6 separate regions of the Homo sapiens genome follow, and all the other regions are linked to region 5. The links are contacts of gene promoters, found by promoter capture Hi-C in blood cells and fetal thymus (Javierre and others, 2016). All regions are on one chromosome and are shown on one strand. Each heading gives the region's core, a stretch centred on a gene start or on the middle of the fragment in contact. The rest is flanking DNA. Distances are from core to core; before and after follow the strand shown.

What was found. The method cuts DNA at HindIII sites, captures the fragments that hold promoters and counts their contacts. A CHiCAGO score of 5 or more calls a contact.
Region 1: a fragment that was not itself captured here is called in contact with the fragment with the promoter of PPCDC in region 5 in 1 of 17 cell types (neutrophils); the score reaches 8.2 in neutrophils.
Region 2: a fragment that was not itself captured here is called in contact with the fragment with the promoter of PPCDC in region 5 in 1 of 17 cell types (neutrophils); the score reaches 9.4 in neutrophils.
Region 3: a fragment that was not itself captured here is called in contact with the fragment with the promoter of PPCDC in region 5 in 1 of 17 cell types (neutrophils); the score reaches 7.1 in neutrophils.
Region 4: a fragment that was not itself captured here is called in contact with the fragment with the promoter of PPCDC in region 5 in 1 of 17 cell types (neutrophils); the score reaches 6.0 in neutrophils.
Region 6: a fragment that was not itself captured here is called in contact with the fragment with the promoter of PPCDC in region 5 in 1 of 17 cell types (naive B cells); the score reaches 5.1 in naive B cells.

Annotation. Positions count from the first base shown.
Region 1 is chr15:75,373,472-75,376,623 of GRCh38, forward strand. SIN3A (SIN3 transcription regulator family member A) reads right to left here. Exons shown (of 21, transcript NM_001145358.2): 20 at 2,194-2,401. Among named protein-coding and RNA genes, the nearest start is that of MAN2C1, 6.4 kb to the left of the region's middle. The HindIII fragment of the contact is 8,348 bases long and covers 1-3,152 here.
Region 2 is chr15:75,445,326-75,448,622 of GRCh38, forward strand. The region is part of intron 1 of SIN3A (SIN3 transcription regulator family member A); the gene reads right to left. Among named protein-coding and RNA genes, the nearest start is that of SIN3A, 4.7 kb to the right of the region's middle. The HindIII fragment of the contact is 2,544 bases long and covers 773-3,297 here.
Region 3 is chr15:75,318,824-75,322,284 of GRCh38, forward strand. It overlaps the pseudogene ANP32BP1. Among named protein-coding and RNA genes, the nearest start is that of COMMD4, 16 kb to the right of the region's middle. The HindIII fragment of the contact is 3,837 bases long and covers 1-3,426 here.
Region 4 is chr15:75,396,919-75,400,060 of GRCh38, forward strand. It overlaps SIN3A (SIN3 transcription regulator family member A), which reads right to left. Exons shown (of 21, transcript NM_001145358.2): 12 at 3,122-3,142. Among named protein-coding and RNA genes, the nearest start is that of MAN2C1, 30 kb to the left of the region's middle. The HindIII fragment of the contact is 3,599 bases long and covers 1-3,112 here.
Region 5 is chr15:75,022,337-75,025,661 of GRCh38, forward strand. PPCDC (phosphopantothenoylcysteine decarboxylase) reads left to right here and starts at 1,254. Exons shown (of 6, transcript NM_021823.5): 1 at 1,254-1,290. The HindIII fragment of the contact is 7,713 bases long and covers 1-3,325 here.
Region 6 is chr15:74,629,888-74,633,176 of GRCh38, forward strand. It overlaps EDC3 (enhancer of mRNA decapping 3), which reads right to left. Exons shown (of 7, transcript NM_025083.5): 7 at 671-3,059. The coding sequence ends at 2,725. CLK3 (CDC like kinase 3) reads left to right here. Exons shown (of 13, transcript NM_001130028.2): 13 at 1-314. Among named protein-coding and RNA genes, the nearest start is that of CLK3, 16 kb to the left of the region's middle. RefSeq lists enhancers at 2,144-2,203, 2,264-2,413. The HindIII fragment of the contact is 1,742 bases long and covers 910-2,651 here.

The sequences.
Region 1 (3,152 bases), core at 401-2,900, 350 kb after region 5:
CTTCCTCCTCCCTCTTCAGCCTACTCAACAAGATGAGAATAAGGACCCTTTATGATGAGCCACAACCACTTAATGAAGAGTAAATGTATCTTCTCTTGCTTATGACTTAACATTTTCTTTTCTCTAACTTACTTTATTGTAAGAATATACAGTATAGGCTGGGCACAGTGGCTCACGCCTGTAATCCCAGCACTTTAGGAGGCTGAAATGGGTGGGTTGTTTGAACCCTTGAGTTTGAGACCAGCCCTGGGCAACGTAAGGAGACCCCGTGTCTATTTTCATTAAAAAAAAAAAAAAGAAAGAAAAAAAGAATGCAGTATATATAATACATACAACATACAAAATATGTTGTTTATCAGTAAGCCTTCCAGTCAGTAGTAGACTATCAGTAGTTCCATTTTGGGGGAGTCAAAAATTATACACAGATTTGACTGTGCAGGGGCCAGTGCCCCAAACCCCTTGTCGTTAAAGGGTTAATTATACATTAAACTGTCTGCTCAACATCTCCCATTTGAAAGTTTTGTAGTCCTTTCAAACTTAAAACAGCACTTCATCTGTCTCCCAAACCTCATAACCCTTTCCTATTAACAGGTGAGCCCCTAAAATCTCCACTTAAGCAAAACAAAACAAACCAAAAAACCCCAAAACTAATCAGGCACCATCCTTGATGTCCTTCTTTTGCTTACCCCCACATTTGATCCAACACCATCTCTTGTCAATTAAATATCTAAATAATATCTACATCTGGGCGTGGTGGCTCACGCCTGTAATCCCAGTACTTTGGGAGGCTGAGGAGGGTGGATCACTTGAGGTCAGGTTCGAGACCAGCCTGGCCAACATGGTGAAATCCCATCTCTACTAAAAATACAAAAAATCAGCCAGGCATGGTTTGAGACACAGCGAAACTCTGTCTCAAAAATAAATGCATAAAGTCTACAATGTAATTCTTGCAATTCCACTGCCACCCTAGTAGTACGGGTGGCCCCCACATCTCATTTGGACAAGGGCACCCTTTTGAGTGGTCTCTGCTCTTCCAACTTTATATATACCCATCTCCACTGTCCTCACAGAACTCCAAGCTATCTTTGTCAAATGTCCCAGTGCATCTCAAACAAATTACAAACCATGGCCTATCATTAGACAAAGTGATGTGGCCTCTGCCTACCCTTCTAACTTCATGCAACCTTGAGCCACAATGGTGTTTGTAATTTCTTGAATATGCCAAGTCCTTTCCTCCCAGCCTTGTACTAGCTCTTTTGTCTAGAAAACACCCATCCTCTACTCTTCACCAGGCTAATTCCTTGTCATTATTCAGGCCTCAAGCATCACCTCCTTTGAGAAGCCTCCTCCAGTGAAAGCAAGGCCTGTATGCTAGTTACCCTTGATCACTTCACCTGATTTGTTTCCCTGGTAGTGCATATCATCGCATTACTTCATCTGCTCTACTTCATGGCTGTAGTCCCAGGGCCTGGCATAACACCCTATACGCAGCTGCACCAGGAAGGTTTCACAATTGAGACAGAATGTAAAGACAGGTAGGATTCATACAAGCAAAAGATCAGATACTACTTGAGATGTAAATACTGGGAGTAAATTCACCAAAAAGGTGCCACCGGGTATTTACGTGCTCTTACAGGCTGAACTGTATTCTCCTTAAAATTCTTATGTTGGCCGGGCATGGTGGCTCACGCCTGTAATGCTAGCACTTTGAGAGGCTGTGTCAGGTGAGACTCTGTCTCAAACAAACAAACAAAAAATCATACATTGAAGTCCTAGCCCCCAGTACTTCCGAATGTGACCTCATCTGGAGGCAGACACACACACACAGGTAGGAACACCATATGAAGATGAAGGCAGGGATCTACAAGCCCAGGAATGCCAAAGATTGCCAGCAAAGAACCAGAAGCTAGGAGAGGCCTAGAAGAGATTGTCCCTCACAGTCCTCAAAAGGAACCAACACTGCTGACACTTGACTTTGGACTTCTAGTCTCCACAACTTTTGTCATTTAAGCCACAGTCTGTGGTACTTTGTCACAGCATCCTTAGCAACCAACATACGTACTTCCTCAGTTAAGTCTCAGCTCCAAGAACAGGTTTGCATAAACAAAGAAAAACAATCAGAAGACTCTGGGCCTCCCCTGGTCCTAGCTAGGGTGGGAGATGTGTACAGAAATTTCAGTTACTGGTTCTCACCTGATGAGCCCGGAGCAGGGCGGTCCTCCGATACATATAGTCCTCTGATTTGATCACATACACCATCTTGTAGGAATTCAGCTTGAATCTACACTCCAGCTTATCCAGACTATCCACATTCTCCATGGTCTTCTTGCTGTTTCCTTCCTTCCCTTCCTTTTCCTGCTGCTCTCGACCACGTTGACACTTCCGGATCCGCCGTAGATTCCTATTGCAGAAAAGCCCCGGAGGATGAGAGCTCGTCCAGATGCAGATTCCCGTGACTTCCCCAAAGTGAGTTTTCTTTATTATATGCTTGCATAGTACTCATCCCAATTTGTTAAATACATACACAAATGTTCAGTTGTTTCACTGCAAAAAAAATTTCAACTGCAAAGGTACACAGAATAAAAAGCAGAAATCTTCACCCATCCCCTACTTGACTTAGCAGATGTAGCCAGTTAAGAGTTTTAATGAGAAACTTCTAGGCCTCTGTCTGTAAATTTACACATGTAATTACCAGCTACAGTTCTGCTTTGGGATTTGTTTTTAAGACAAAATAGGATCATACTATATATTTTGTCCTCAACTTTTCACTTACTGTCATGAATATTTTTTCATTTCATGATAGATTTGTCTTATTCTCTTTAACTGCTGCAGAAAAATGTACCCCAATTTACCATTCCTTAACAGTTTCTTTCAACTGAGGTTCCTCATCTGAACCACATAACAAAAATTTATTTGAATGACTATTTTTAAAAATTCCCCCAGATGATATAAACTAGTGCCATTCTACATACACAAGAAAGAAGATAATTCACATGAATGGATGCCCTGAGGGGTGGTAGGCTTGCTAAATCTCAACATCCAGTGAAAAAAGTTATCAGCTAGACAATTATATTGTTTCTCATAACTTGCTATTAAAAACACTGCTTCAGGTTGGCCACTGTGGCTCATGCCTATAATCCCAGCACTTTGGG
Region 2 (3,297 bases), core at 795-3,294, 420 kb after region 5:
AGCTGAGATCGCGCTACTGTACTCCAGCCTGGGCGACAGAGCGAGACACTGTCTCAAAAAAAAAAAAAAAAAAAAAAAAATTAGCCAGGCATGGTGGTGGGTGCCTGTAATCCCAGCTACTCGGGAGGCTAAGGCAGAAGAATCACTTGAACCCAGGAGGTGGAGGTTGCAGTGAGCTGAGATTGTGCCAAGCCGAGATTGCACCACTGCACTCCAGCCTGGGAGACAGAGCAAAACTCCGTCTCAAAATAAATAAATAAATAAATAAATAGCTGGGTGTAGTGGCGCATGCCTGTAATCCCAGCTGCTCGGGAGGCTGAGGCAGGAGAATCACTTGAAGCTGGGTGTGTGTATGTGTGTGTGTGCAATGAGCCGAGATAGTACCACTGCACTCTAGCCTGGGCAACACAGTGAGACCTTGTCTCAAAAAAAAGAAAAAAAAAAAAAAAAAAGAAAGAAAGAAAAGAAAATAGAGCATTACAAAGAATAGAACTTGAGATAGTTCTTGAAAGGACAGGTGGAAGTGTCACTCACATCTCACACTGCTTTTATCACATTAGCTCTTCTGCTCCCACACAAACATGGGCACATAACATCTTTAACCATCTATGTATCCTCTACCATGCTCAGCATACTGCTTTGTCTTGTCTGTGGTGGAAACCAAATCATTCATTCATGTATACATTCTCTAATATCTACTGAGCACATACTATGCACCAGGTGTTTTAGGAGCTGGAGATACAACGGTAAACAAAAATCTCTTCCCTCAAGAAGCTTATATTTTAGTGAAAGATGACACAATAGACAAAGTATAATATTTAGAATAGTAGGCAGTGACAGGTATCAAGAACAAAAGGCAAGGAAGAGTTTTTGAAATTGTAGATAAGAATGGTCAGATAATACCTACTGATAAGGTAACTTCTGAGTAAAGGAAGTGAGGGAGCTAGTCATGCAGAAATTAGTGGAGGAAGCCTTCTAGGCAGAGGGGACAGCAACCGCAAAGACCCTCATGTCTTTGTGAGGGCTCACATGTGCTTGACATGTTCCAAAACAGCATGAAGGCTGGGTAGCTGAAGAAAAACGAAAGAAGGACTAGTCAGAAATGTAGTCAGAGAGGTACTAGGATAAGGGTGGCAGGCAGAGGGTACATCAGATTTGTTCTTACAGGTGTTTTTTTATTTTTTGACACAGGGTCTCATTTTGTCGTCAAGGCTGGGGTGCAGTGGCACAGTCATGGCTCACTGCAGCCTCAAGCTCCTGAGCTCAAGCAATCCTCCTGCCTCAGCCTCTCAAGTAACTGGGACTACAGGCACGCGCCAGCATGCTTGGCTAATTTTTAATTTTTTTATAGAGACAGGGTCTTGTTATGATGCCCAAGCTGGTCTCAAACTCCTGGACTCAAACGATCCTCCCACTTGAGCTCCCAAAATGGTGAAATTACAGACATATCCTTTTTTTTTTCTTTTGAGACAGTCTCGCTCTGTCGCCCAGGCTAGAGTGCAGTGGCACGATCTTGGCTCACTGCAAGCTCCACCTCCCGGGTTCACACCATTCTCCTGCCTCAACCTCCCGAGTAGCTGGGACTACAGGTGCGTGTGCCACCATGCCCGGCTAACTCTTTTGTATTTTTTTTAGTGGAGACCATGTTAGCCAGGATGGTCTCAATCTCCTGACCTCGTGATCCGCCTGCCTCAGCCTCCCAAAGTGCTGGTATTACAGGCATGGGCCACCGCGCCCAGCTCATTACAGACATATCTAAATAAGGACTCAGGTTTAATACTCAGACTGAAATGGAAAGCCACTGGATGGTTTTAAGCAGAGAAGTGACACGGTATGACTTAGGTTTCAAAAGAATCACTTGGGTTGCTATGTTGAGAACACATTTAAGAGCCGCAGTAACAAAACAAGGAGAATAGAATCCAAGCTAGAGATGCACAGGCACTGACTAGGGCAGTGGAGATGCAGATCCTAAGTGGTCTAATTCTGGATAGTATTTTGAATATAAAGCAGTAAAATTTACTGATGGACCACATATGAAAAAGACACAGAAGAGTCAACAATGTCTCTTAGTTATCCAAGAGGAGACATCGAGTGGAGACCTTGAGTGGGCCACTAAACATATTAGTCTATGGTAGAGGGAGAGATCCCCGTTAGAGTCATCAGCATTGTTTGGATTTTAGAAAGGTAATATGGTACATATACTGTATCATCTCTCTCTCCCAGCTAGGGCTGAGTAGCTCCCCATAATCAAGCAGTCACATTTCTGCATCATGCAGGATAGCCCAGGTCAGGCTGTACCCCAAAACTAGTTGTGGAACTAGACTTACCAAAAAACAAAAACTCTTGCATTTCAGAACTGCAAATAAAGGATGTGGACCTGCATATCCTCCAATAGCCCATATGTCAGCAAGCCTAGCCCTGGAGGACACCAAGAAGACTCATGAAGGGTCCACTGTCATGCTGAGAAATATGGGTAACATACAAGCATACAAGACAAAAAGTGGGTAGGGAAAACAAAAGCAAAAGGGGCAAATAAGAAATACATCAGGTAGAAATTGCCACCCATGACCGGGCACGGTGACTCACGTCTTAATCCTAGCACTTTTGAGAGGCTGAGGCAGAAGGACCTCTTGAGCCCAGGAGTTCGAGACCAGCCTGGGCAACACAGCAGGACTTCACCTCTATAAAAATATAAAAAAAATTAGCCAGGTGCGTGGTGGCACACACCTGTAGTCCCAGCTACATGGGAGGCTAAGGTAGGAGGGTCGCTTAAGTCCAGAAGATCAACACTGCAGTGAGCTGTGATCATGCCACTGCACTCCAGCCTGGTGACAGAGCGAGACTTCGTCTAAAAAAAAAAAAAAAAAGACATGAGAAAAAAAGACATTATGCGGCCGGGTGCAGTGGATCATGCCTGTAATCCCAGTACTTTGGGAGGCTGAGGCGGGCGGATCACGAGGTCAGGAGTCTGCGACCAACCTGATCAACATGGTGAAACCCTGCCTCTACCAAAAGTACAAAACTTAGCCAGGCGTGTGGTGGCGCCCCAGCTTCTTCTTCGTGGAGGCTGAGGCAGGACAATCGCTAGAACCCGGGAGGCGGAAGTTGCAGTGAGCTGAGATTGCACCACTGCACTCCAGCCTGGGAGACAGAGCAGGACTCCATCTCAAAAAAAAAAAAAAGTCTAGTGCCTAACACAGTATCTGTGACACAGTAAGTGCTCAATAAATATCAGCTTTTATTTTTCAAGGGGCGAGGAAGGTGTATTTTGAAAAAGCATATACTATTTATTTTTTT
Region 3 (3,461 bases), core at 258-2,757, 300 kb after region 5:
CTGCTCGACCTGTTCTCTGATGTCTGAAAACTATCGTTTTATATATGTTGTTCCATTTTTCTAGTTGTTCAAGGTGGGAGGCAAATCTGGTCCCTGTTAGCAATCGTGGCCACATGTAGAGGTTGCAGGATGTTGTTTACGTCTGTATCTTTTTTTTTTTTTTTTGAGACAGGCTCTCACTCTGTCGCCCCAAGTGGTGCCCTCTTGCCTCACTGCCACCTTCACTTTGTGGCCTCAAGCGATCCTCCCACCCCAGCCTCCCAAGGTGCTGGGATTACAGGTGTGAGCCACTGCACCCGGCCTAAAATTGTATCTTTCTTATTATCAGTGAAGTTAAACATTTTTTCCTGTGTGTCAGCGGCATTTGGGTTTCTTTTTCTTTGAACTTTCATATTTTTTTTTCCATTTTTCTTAGAATTTTTGGTCTTTGTCTTCTCTACTTTTAGAATAGAATGAATATGATATTAATCATACTTCGAATTGTGACCATGATAGAGTACCTGTATTGATGATGGTCTCCCAGCATAAACAACTACAAAGCTGGACAAAGTACATGAAGAAATTGTCTTCAGGCATTGGGCAATAGGCAGTTCCATGTACAATCTGAGAGAAGGGAATCACATGAAGTGACTGCTACATTTTTCTGGTGGGGAAAGTTTCTAAACCCTCAATGACAGCACGAGGAAGCAGAGTCCAAGCCAAGAGGATCAGTCTTGTTTGGTGAAGGAAACAGAGACTGGTGCTCAGGGCTGCTAAAATGTGTGTGGCAGAGTATCAGAAAGGACGGAGTTGCAGAGGAGAAGCCCCAGAAATCTTACAGAGGTTGCTGCAGGTCCTTGGCCAAATCCCAAACAATGAGTGTGCAGATTGAGGCTCTGCAAGGCCCAGCACAGAACAGCCGATGGGGAGCTGAAAGCTAAACAGCGATTTCAGTCACAGACTGCTGGAGATACATCTGAATTCTGGCTCAGCCAGAGTCTCCACTCTTGGAATCTCAGATCTTGATGAATATTCCAGACATTCACAGAGGGCCTAGAAGGCCATGCCTTGGGATTAAGGAAGATTCCCTGGGAATAAGGGCAAAACTGAAAAACAGGTCACCCTAACAAAGCCTAAAATGTACCCTTGACACACATGATCAAGTTAACCCACGAGTAATTTAATTCCCTGCCAAAATAAAACTCAACACTAGAGTAGGATAACATAACCCACATCTCTACAATGAAGGTTCACAACGTCCAACAGCTCAAGAAATACTAGATGTGTGAAAAAAGTGAGAAAATATATCCTAAAATTAAGAGAAACCCAGTCAATATGAACAGACCCACTGTGCATGGTGGCTCACGCCTGTAATCCCAGCACTTTGGGAGGCCAAGGCAAGTAGATCACTTGAGCTCAAGACTTCGAGACCAGCCTGGGCAACATGGCATAACCCCATCTCTACTAAAAATTCAGAAACGAGTTGGGTATGGTGGTGTGCAGGGGCCCATAACCCCCAGGCTGTGGACTGTACCCGTAGGTAACCTGGTAGGAACCAGGCTGCGCAGCAGGAGGTGAGTGGTGGACAGCGAGCATTACTGCCTGAGCTCCACCCGCCGTCAGATCAGCAGGCATTAGATTCTCATAGAAGCGTGAACCCTAATGTGAACTGCACATGCGAGGGATCTAAGTTTCACACTCTTTATGAGAATCTAATGCCTGATGATCTGAAGTGGAACAGTTTCATACCATAACCACCACCCCCAACCCCGTCTGTGGAAAAATTGTCTTCCACGAAACCAGCCAGGACTGCTGGTGGCACGTGCCTGTGGTCCCAGCTACTTGGAAGGCTGAGGTGGAAGGATGGCTTGAGCCTGGGAGGTGGAGGTTGCAGTGAGTTGAGATCATGCCGCTGCACTCCAGCCTGGACAACAGAGTGAGAACTTATCTCAAAGAAACAACAACAAAAAAAGGGCCAGGCATGGTGGCTCACACTTGTACTCCCAGCACTTTGGGAGGCTGAGGCAGGCAGATCACCAGGAATTCAAGACCAGCCAGATGAGGTGGAGGTTGGAGTGAGCCGAGATGGTGCCATTGCACTCCAGCCTGGGCTACAAGAGCAAAATTCTATCACACACACACACAAAAAAAAAGAGAGAAAGCAGACCCATAAATGGCTCACACATTGGAATTAGCAGGCAAGAGCTTTAAAGTAACTACATACATACATTAAAGAATTTAGAGAAATATCAACACCTGTGAAGATGGTGAAAAAAAAATTTAGAGAAATAAGTTTTAGTATAAGTATGTCCTAAATATGCATGGTACATACTTACTAAAAAATAGTTTATTTTTTATCAGAAATCTAAATTCAACTGGGTGTTCTATATCTTATCTGGCATCTCTACCCCAAAGCCAAGCAGGAGAGAATCCACAGTCTTATCTTCCAGCAGGTGACCTAGCCTAGGACAGGGCCTGGCCAGGGGCAATTGTGAATTGGATGGATTAGAGATGCCAGTCATTCAGTGTGTCAAAGGTTTGCCAGACCTGCATACAATCAACATTATTATTATTATTGTTATTTTAATGTTAAGATTTTATTTACAAAGATTTTTGTTGTACAGAAAGTAAAAATGCTGTTACAGTCCCAGTGTAACTGGTAGCCACAGATGGTTGACTCACCAATCACAGCTATCTACGCTACAGCAAGAGTCTCACACAAAAACCTAACAACACTTACAATTTTGTTGGGGTGAAGTCCCTAAGCTCGATGGTAGATTGGTAGATTACCAAGAGGGACTACATGGAGGAAGACGGAATGTCACAGGAACTATTCTTTGGCTCTTTGGGTGGGTGGGTGTCCTGGGGTTTGTATCAGCTACCTTTTTTTTTTTTTTTTTAACAGCTACCAAATCCATGAGCAGTCCAACCGATACTAAACAGTTCTGTTTCTGCAGGTCATCTGGGGTCTTAATCATCTTCTCCTTCATCATCCGTTTCTCTCTTCCTCTTTTTACCTTTCCTGCCTTCTTCCTCCTCCTTCATCCTCATCCTCATCTTCATCTTCTTCAAGTCCAAATTCTTCTTCCTCCTCACTGACTTCATCTTCGTCATCTCCTTCTACATTTTCATCTTCTTCATCAAACTCCTCTTCTTCACCATCTTCATCCTCCTCGTCTTCTTCGTCTTCTTCTTCGCCCTCCTACTCTTCATCCACACCATCCACCTCAGCATCTGAGTCAGGTTCCTCCTGGTCCTCTTGGTCATAGCCATCCATGTAGGTAAGCTGGGGCAGGAGCTTGAAGACACTCTCAGTAGTCATTCATGTTAGTAACCTCACAGTTAAAGAGGTCCAGGCTTTTCAGACATTCTAACTTTTTCAAAGGTTCCAAGGTGCTGATATCTTTCAGTTTATTTCCACTTAAGTTTAGACGTGTGAGATTTGGAAGCTTTTCAGCTAACATGTCCAGACCTCCAAAGAT
Region 4 (3,142 bases), core at 63-2,562, 370 kb after region 5:
ACAAACAATAACAATCAAAACAATCCCAAAAGACCGCTTTGTCTTGAGAGTTTTTTGGTTTAACTTGAAATATTTAAATATATTCAAATACTTAAATATTCAATAGCCTTGTTCCACATCCAGTAATAATAAGAGCAGTGACTATCATAACTTAAGGAGTTCACTGTTGTAGCTGCGGGTAACCATTTAAATTCTTATTGGACTCCTGGCAACCTTTGAGTCTACTTTTTCCCTAGCTTAAAATAAGGTTCTCTAAATGAGAAACAGAAAATGAAGTAAATGAGCAGTCTCAACGGTCTACAACCAACTGTTTGCAGAAGTGTTCCCTAAGTTTTCTTGTTTTGGGAATGTGGTAGTCATTTGGTCAATATTTCTGGCCCCTCTTGCTCTCCAATTATGAACAAAAAATGGACTAAACTTCCTGGCTCCCTTATGATTGGATAGGGCCATGTAACTAGTTTTGACCAATGAGTTGTTATGAGATGAGTAGAAGTAATGTTTATTACTTCTAGGCTGCAGCATTTAAAGGTGTGAGATCATTCCAAGCTCTCTTTTCCTCCTAGTGACTAGCAACATTCATAATGGCAGCAATCCCTTGGCCTGAATCCCCAAGTAATTCTGATATGCCAAATCCCCTGCTAAACATCAATGTACATGTAGAATGATTAGAAATTAAACCCATTGGTTTTACAAGTCACTCAGATGTGGGAGTTGTCTGTACTGAGGCATTACTAACCTATCTTGATTGGTAACGCACATTCCTTCAAACTAGCTCATCCCACCAAATCTTAAACACATGCACACCCCACTTCTTTCATGTTTGCCCTTGTAGTCACAAATGGGAAATGAAGTTGCCTCTCATTTGGAGGCATACCAGCTGAGAGAGGATAGGAACACTCTGTCAAAAACAAATGCCAAGCTCTGCTAAACTCATCAGTTAACCTTACTAAACGTAAGTAACAAAGAAATGCCTTCTTTAGCTTGATAACACTCCCTATGGAAGTTAACATCTGTCTTGATTTAGCTTTCTGCAAATAGGTGCAACTCCTTATAAATGCTGGGGCAAAGATGGCCAACCACCTGCCAGTGGCCAGGCAGCATGTGGTTCTCAATTAAAAACACACCAGAAACTGCTGAACCAAGTGTGAGGCGGGAAAACTGGCAAAGAGCTAAAAGAGTACCAAAACAAACAAACAAACAAACAAAAACCAGCAAGATACCTATCCACACAAGTAAGCACAGCCAGTCAATTTAATGTAACAGATACACTAAATAGGATACGTATCATTTTACATCTTTAGACAAACCAGACTTCCCTTTTTAAAAATGATAATGTAAACCAGACATATAAACACACTGAGGATTGAGCCCACTTTCAGTAGTCCCTCTCCTGATATAGGTGGTATGGGGCCTTCTACCACCTCATTTATTCACTCCACTCTTCCCTTCCTAATTACTTCAAAATAAAGCTCCTGGGACAGGCGCAGTGGCTCACACTTGTAATCCCAGCACTTTGGAAGGCCAAGACGGGTGGGTCACTTGAGGTCAGGAGTTCAAGACCAGCCTGGTCAACATGGTGAAACCCATCTCCACTAAAAATACAAAAAAAATTAGCCGGGTGTAGCGGCATACACCTGTAGTCCCAGATACTTGGGAGGCTGAGGCAGGATAATGGCTTAAACTCGTGAGGCAGAGGTTGCAGTGAGCCGAGATCACACCACTGCACTCCAGCCTGGTTGACAGAGCAATACTCTGTCTTTAAAAAGAAAGGGGTCCCTAATTTAGCCTTCTTTCAAAAGGAGCCAATCAGGCCAGGTATGGTGGCTCATGTGTGTAATCCCAGCACTTTGGGAGGCCAGGGTGGGATGATCGCTTGGACCCAAGAGTTTGAGACCAGCCTGGGTAATGTAGTAAAACACTGTTTCTATAAAAAACAAAAAATTAGCCACAGGGGGTAGGAGGCAAGGGGAGGGAGAGCATTAGGACAAATACCTAATGCATGTGGGGCTTAAAACCTAGATGATGAGTTGATAGGTGCAGCAAACCACCAAAGCACATGTATATCTATGTAACAAACCTGCACGTTCTGCACATGTATCCCAGAATTTAAAGTTTAAAAAAAAAAAAAAAAAATTTACCCAGGCATGGTAGCACATGCCTGTAGTCCCAGCCACTCGGTGGCGGGTAGGGGTGGGGGTCTGAGGTGGGAGGATCACACTTGAGTCTGGAAGGTTGAGGCTGCAATGAACTGTGATTGTGCCACTGCACTGCAGCCTGGGCAATAGAATGAGACCCTGTCTCAAAAAAACAAAACAAAACAAAGCAATCAGCTGGGCGCAGTGGCTCACACCTGTAATCCTAGCACTTTGGGAGGCCGAGACGGGTGGATCACGAGGTCAGGAGATCGAGACCATCCTGGCTAACACGGTGAAACTCCGTCTCTAATAAAAATACAAAAAATTAGCCGGACGTGTTGGCGGGCGCCTGTAGTCCCAGCTACTCGGGAGGCTGAGGCAGGAGAATGGCATGAACCTGGGAGGCAGAGCTTGCAGTGAGCCGAGATTGCGCCACTGCACTCCAGCCTGGGAGACAGAGCGAGACTCCGTCTCAAAAAAACAAAACAAAACAAACAAACAAACAAACAAAAAACAACAAAGCAATCAATACCAGAAACATGAAAGAAAAATGCCAGTTCTCAGAGCTGGTTTGCTAACCATGGCAAGATACTTGCTAAGGGTAACAATACACACAGATCTTAAATAATTTAAAAACAGCTTCAAGAAAGTACTATAAACCTTAGGATACTGATTTTCTTCACCATGCAAAACATAATAATCTTAAAATGCCATGCAAAATCAAAAGAACTATTATTTAGTCATCAATGGACAATTTCAGTTAAAAGGGCTAAAGTGGCCTAGATAAGTCACATTTGCCATAAAGCATGTACTAATATATACATTTGACCAATGCATAAAGCATGGAAAGTACCACAACAAGCACTTACCATAGAAGAATGTGAGCCTTTGGCTCTTCCATCTTAATAACCCTCAGAGACAGGTACTGATAGTCTCACTGAGCATCTCCCATTTCCCCCAACTTCAAATGCCAAACAAGCTTGTACCTCAAAGCGTTCATCTTCACA
Region 5 (3,325 bases), core at 4-2,503:
CTTTCCTGCCTAGAGGTGTTGCTTCCTCATGGAGGATCTTACCCTGTCATTTTCTGTGTCCCTGTTTGTCTCAAGAACAGGGACGCATCTGATTTATCTCTGTATCCTGTGCACCTAAAATAGAAGAGGCTTGGTAAATATTAAGTGCCACGAGCCCTCTTTTACTAAGGACCTGCCAACATGGGCCCCATTCACACTAATACCATGAAGATAGCCCTTTTCTATACTTCGTCATAAAAAAGTAATACACACACCCGGGCAGCAACTTCCACACAAACAACACATGTGCAAGGAGATCACCATTATTTCCAGCAAAATGCTCCCCAGGGCCGAGCGTGGTGGCTCACTCCTGTAGTCCCAGCACTTTGGGAGGCCAAGGTGGGCGGATTGTTTGAGCCTAGGAGTTTGAGACCAGCCTGGGCAATAGAGTGAGAACCCGTCTCTACAAAAAATACAAACATTAGTCTGGCATGATGGTGCACTCCTGTAGTCCTGGCTACTCCATAGGCTGAGATAGGAGGATGGCTTAAGCCCAAAAGGTGGAGGTTGCAGTGAGTGGAGATAGCACCACTGCGCACTCCAGTCTGGGTGACAGAGCCAGACCCTGTCTCAAAAAAAAAAAAAAAAACAAAAAAAAAAACAGCTCCCCAACAAGATAGCAGGCTACAACATGCATGTGATGAAGCTGATTTGAAGCGCTCAGTGAGAGGTATCTGCATCAAGTTGCAGGAGGAGAAGAGAGAAAGGAGAGATAATCATGTTCCTGAGGTCTCAGCCCTGGATCAGGAAATCATTGAAGTATTAACATATCCTGACATTAAGGAAATGCTGATGTTTTTGGACTTTGGCAGTCTGTCCAACCTGCAGGTCACTCAGCCAACAGTGGGGATGAATTTCAAAACGCCACGTGGAAGCTGTTTGAATCTTTTTGAGATACTGTAATATTTTCAATAAACCTGGGACAACAGCAAAAAAAAAAAAAAAAAAAAAAAGGCCCCAAGCAACAAGCAGTGTGTGTGGGGCTGATAGGAGTGAGGAAAGGAGGTCGGACAGTTATGCCAGCCCCTATCGAGAGTCCCAGCAATACAAAGAACAGGGCCAGGGTTTGCTCCAGGATTTCCCCAGTGGACTACAACTCCCGGAAGGCAGAGAAGTGGACTACAGCTCCCAGAAGGCTGCGCGACATACAGCCAGCCCGGTGCTCTCGTGAGGCGTGCCAGTCAGATTCCGCGGGAGAGCGGCAGAGATACCGCGATATTTGGGAGCGGCCCCGAGACGCGCCTGGCGCGGGTGAGCAGTGGAAGGGGGCTGGGAAGCTGGGTTCTCGCGGCGGCGCGGGAGGGGAGGTTCGGGGAGCTGTGTCCGCGAGCGTGGGTCCACGGCTGTCTGTGTGTGTCCTTATTTTCCCCTGTGTGCCCATGAAGCTCTGTTTGCGACTGTGCGTGGGTAGGCGGCCGTCCATCTGTGCGACCTCACTTTCCCGGCTGTACGGGTGGGGCCGCCTGGAGCAGGAGGGACCCCCGAGCCCTGAGTGGAGGGTTTGCATCTGTACCCGTCCAGCCCGACTTTGTGCTGCTCTGCGATTATTTGTCCAGTGTCGTTTAATCTAGTTTAAATGATGGCCGTGTCAGCTCCTCACACTGAACGCTTACCCGGGCTGCCCAAAGTACAAAGTGTATTTAAAAAGTTGGTAAAATTAAAAAAGGAAAGCCATGGGATGTTGGAAGTAGCCCTAGGCCTGCCAAAAAGTGCTGAGTGCTATTTAAAAATTAGGCCAAATCTTGTCAGAAAAGAACTTCCTGCTGTCCTTGAAGTATTTGGAAGCAGGTGCTAGATGGTGAGCAGGAGAGGTTGCCAAGTTGGGGAAGTGGTGGTTGTCCTGGAGCAGGGGTTTCCACATCTCTCACAGTGGCTGGGAAGTAGCAATTCGCAGTCACTGCCTTTCTAGTAGCCCACGTGTGTGAGTGTGTGTGTTAGATACATTTATCCCTCAGTATCCGCAGGGGATTGCTGTATACTTTTTTTTTTTGAGACAAGGTCTCATTCTGTGACCCAGGCTGGAGTGCAGTGGCAGGAACATGGCTCACTGCAGCCTCGACCTCCTGGGCTCAAGGGATCCTCCTGCCTCAGCCTCCTGTGTAGCTGGAACCACAGGCATAAACAACCATACCCGGCTAATTTTTATTTTATTTCATTTTTGTAGAGACAGGGTCTCACCATGTTGCCCAGGCTGGTCTCAAACTCCTGGCTCAAGCTATCCTCCTTCCTTGGCCTCTCAAAATGCTGGGATTACAGGTGTGAGCCACCACATCACCCTCCTGTATACTCTTTTTTCTTTTCTTTTTTTTTTTTTGAGTCAGGGTCTCACTCTTGTCTCCCAGGCTGGAGTGTAGTGGTGCAATCATAGCTCACTGCATCTTCGAACTCCCTGGGCTCAGATAATCCTCCCACCTCAGCCTCCCAGGTAGCTGGGACTGCAGGCACGTGCCACCACGCCCTCCATATAATTTAAATAATCTCTAGATTACTTATAAAACCTGATACAGTGTAAATGCTATGTAAATAGCTACACACTTTTTTTTTTTTGTGGTACTATTATTATATTTTGAAATGGTCTCTCTCTGTCACCCAGGCTGGAGTGCAGTGGCACAAACATGGCTCACTGCAGCCTTCTAGGCTCAAGCGATCCTCCTGCCTCAGCCTCCCAAGTAGTTGAGACCACAGGCATGTGCCACCACACCTCACTAACTTTTAAATTTTTTGTATGGGGTCTTGCTATGTTACCCAGGCTGGTCTCGAGTACCTGGGTTTGCTCAATCCTCCCACCTTGCCCTCTTAAATTGCTGGGATTACAGGTGTAAGCTGGAGCAGAAGCCTGGGCAGCCGGTAGTGAGGGGCTTTGATGTTAGGCTAAAGGATTCAGGCTCATAATGGATCTTGGATCCCTGCCTACCCACCACCCACTTCCCTTGTTTGGTTCTGCTTTGTCTTAGGCTCAGTTCTCATCCTTCCTGTATTGAGCTTGAACGTATACCCTGTCTGGCCTTGCTTTCCTTGCTCTGTCTTTAGTCTGGTTCTGTGCCAGCTCCACCTTTGCCCATATAGGGACTGGCAGGTATCCCTGAAACCTAAAACTCTGCCCTGAATTAAACTCATCAGAGGAGACTTAAACATCACAAGCTGAGGCTCTTTGCTCTGTCTGTCCCTGTCTTTCTGGAGGATAGAGAAGCTGCCATTTTTCTGGCTGTGGCTTACCTGCTTGGCTAGTGCCCTGGGATCTTGAGGCTCAGTAATCAAAGCGTGTAGCCCTATAACCTGCCCACTT
Region 6 (3,289 bases), core at 531-3,030, 390 kb before region 5:
CACAGGCCACCGCATGAGGAGATGGAGGGCGGGACTGGGCCGCCCAGCCCCTTGACTCCAGCCTCGACCGCCAGGCCCCAGGCCAGAGCCACCCAATGAACAGTGCAATGTGAAGGAAGGCAGGAGCCTGCAGGGGAGCAGACTTGGTGCCCAGCTGCCAGAAAGCACAGATTTGACCCAAGCTATTTATATGTTATAAAGTTATAATAAAGTGTTTCTTACTGTTTGTAACCCCTGGTACCAGTGTGTCCATCTCCAGGCTCCTTGCCTTCCCCTTACCTGACCTTATTAATAAAGTCTTTCTTAGCAGTTCAGCTTGTGGAGAGCTAAGTGTGAACTGGGCCAGGCACAGAAGAGCTAGGCAGGGGTAAGACCAGAATTGGGGACATCCTCTGGGCCCAGGCTGCTGAGCAGTCCTAGATGGCACCTCTGCCCTGCTGGCTTCTGTACCTCTCAGCCCCAGAGAACCTAAGGGAATCAGCCCACCGTGGCTAGCCAGGTGGGGTCTGGTTTTCCACAGCCTGCCAGTCCCATTACTGGCCAGGACTTTAGGCTGTATGTGCCCAACAACTATGGCCTGCTGAGGGCAGGAGACGAGTGGGGCGGGTTCCTAGGCTGGGACAGACAGCACCTCATGACAGCCTACAGAGCAAGTCACACGGCACAGGACTCAGTCAGTCATTCAGCTTTATTTCAGTGCTGGTTTTTGGTTCCCTAAGAGCTGCATGAGTGCTAGGCTTCACCACGTGACTGGGGGCCCCTTGGGAACTGGGTACTATGGGCAGGATGCCCCTGAAAAGAACTGAAGACAGAGGAATCATACTTCTCTTTAATACCTCTGGGGAAGGCCCAGGCTAAGGATGAGGGCAGGGACCAGTCCCAGTGCCCCCTGGGGAGAGAAGAGGGAGAAGCTTGGGCACAAACTCCCAGTGGCCCTGCAAGGCTATCATCCCTGGATCTTGCTGGAGTGGACAGTCTTCTGGGCCAGGGTTGTTCTAGCTTGTTTCTCACTGTACCTAATCAGGGGGCCTAACTGCATTAACAGGCAGCCAGAACCTACCTACCAAAAAGCCTGTAACCTAGACTGCTCCTCAGATTTTGGCCAAGAGAGGGCCCCGGCTTGGGAGCTGCTTGGCCCTGAGAGTGAGCAGAGGCTCAGAGAATACACAGCACAAGGGTTACAGTCCCTGGCCTCTTCCCATCGCTGGAGACAATTTAAGACTGAAGGGAAGATGAGAGGAGGGGCCAGCCCTCTACCCTGGCTCATCTGCTTCTGGCTATGTTCCTACAAGGGAAGTGATAACAGCCTGAAACCCGTGGTACCAGGGCCTACCCTATGTCCACAATCCTTGGTGAGCCCTTCTGTCCACCCATCCACCCGCTCAGCCAGCCTGGGCAGACACAGAGCAGAAGCAGCCTGAAGCCCTGAAGCAGGCTTAAACACAAGTCCTTGACAGGAATCCCTGCCAGGATTCCAGGCATAGATCCTGTTCTACCAGCCTCCAGGGCCTAGAGCTTGGCACCTTAGGATTTGAGCATCAGTGTGTTCCTATGGTTGGAACCCACACCAGCTAGCTCATCCAGAACTAGCCTCATTTTGCCATCTTTGAGACAGGGTGCTGGCCCCAAGCCTACTCATCTAGACTGGACAAATGTAAAAGGTTCAAAGCCCAGATGATGTAAGAGCTGGGGTGGAGCTCAAGCACGGGAGCCCATCTGCCTGCTCTGGGATGACAGCTGCAAAGGACCGTTTCAGGGGAAGGGCAGAGGGGATGAAAGAGTAGGTGGGGCATGTATGTGCGGGCAAAGGGCTGGAGGAGTGGTGGCCTAGGACAGAAGCACCAGGAAGCCTCTTCTGGTTCAGCACCAGGCTCCCCCAGGGATATCCCCATCTGAGGGGTCTGGCCCCAGACTAGGCAAAGGCTCAACCTGCTCAGCTTTGAGGGTGGGGGCGGGCACTGCTGGCAAGATGGGCACTGTGGTTCTACAGTAATATAACCTTATACTACCTGTGCTGAAGACGACAGAACAACATAAAATCCCAATACAGTAACACCATCCTAATGCCGCCCCCTTCCCTACCTCTGAGTGATGGAGGGAAAAGGAGGGAGAGATCCTTGGAAAAATCAGCATAAAACTTGGATCAGCTCAGGAGTAAGGGTCAAAACCCCCCAAATCAACTTGTGGGGCTAGGGGAAGGCCTGGTCTGTCACAGCCCTGGACATGAATGGAGAGTGCAGGTCTGCCCTCTGGTGGACAGCTGCCGTGCAGCTGGTTCTACAGAGGAAGGGCTGTCTGCGTGGGGAAAGCAGGGGAGACACAAAGCCACAAGCTCTGAAATAGAGCAGGTACAGGCCCCCAGACAGGACCTGGCCCACTCTTCAATGTGTGTGCCCAGGCCCAGTGGCTGTAAACCTGAAACACAGTCTTGAGAGCTGCCTACGGCTGTAAACAAAGGCCCACCTGGCCGTGCAGGGGGCTGAGGGTAGAGATGCCTGGAGTTGCTGCACGCTCAGCCTGCCACCCAGCCCGGAACCCAGTGGGAAAGACTTCCCTGGCTAAGAGCAAGTGACAGGTCAGTTTTAAGTAAGTTCTGTTCTCTCACAGAAGAAACAAACCCAAAAGAGAAAAAACTTTAACAAGGTCCATGAAGCTTCATATCCTTAAGGCGTTTGTTATCAGGAGCAGCAGGGGACAGCAGAGTCCTGCCTGCGCAGGAACCCTCTAAGCAGAGTGCAGTGGGATAACAAACTTGCAGCCAAAGGGCGAGTGGTAGTTGATGCCCACCTCCTGGAAGACCTGCTGGGGAATGCCAATGTCGCACAAATAGATACGGCCTGCGTGCTCCCCCAGTGGCAGAGGCAGGCCCAGTGCCAGTGACCATTTGGCATCAATGCCCTGTTCGACTTCATGCACAGGAGGGTCTATGCTGAGTACTGGTGCCCGGTTCTGGTTGGCCCAGGCCACAGCTGCCTTGTACCAGGGTTGATCGCGCAGGAAGACGTTCTCAGGGCAATCCAGGCAGTTGATGACCAGGTCCACAGGGCTAGTGGGCAGATCTGCAGGTGGAAAGAGTGCCATCTGAAAGTCCCTATGAGCAGAGAGCAGCCCAGGCTGGGACTAGGGCCCAGGTCACCCCAAGGGTGTCTTTGTTTTCCAGACACCACTCGAATGCCTCTCCAAAGGCTGGCCTTCTTAAAGCTGGGCCAGGGCACAGGCCCTAGGAGTTGCAAGCTGGCTGGGCTGAGTGCTAGAGACCAAGTGCATGTCAGCCCAGCAGACCACTGCC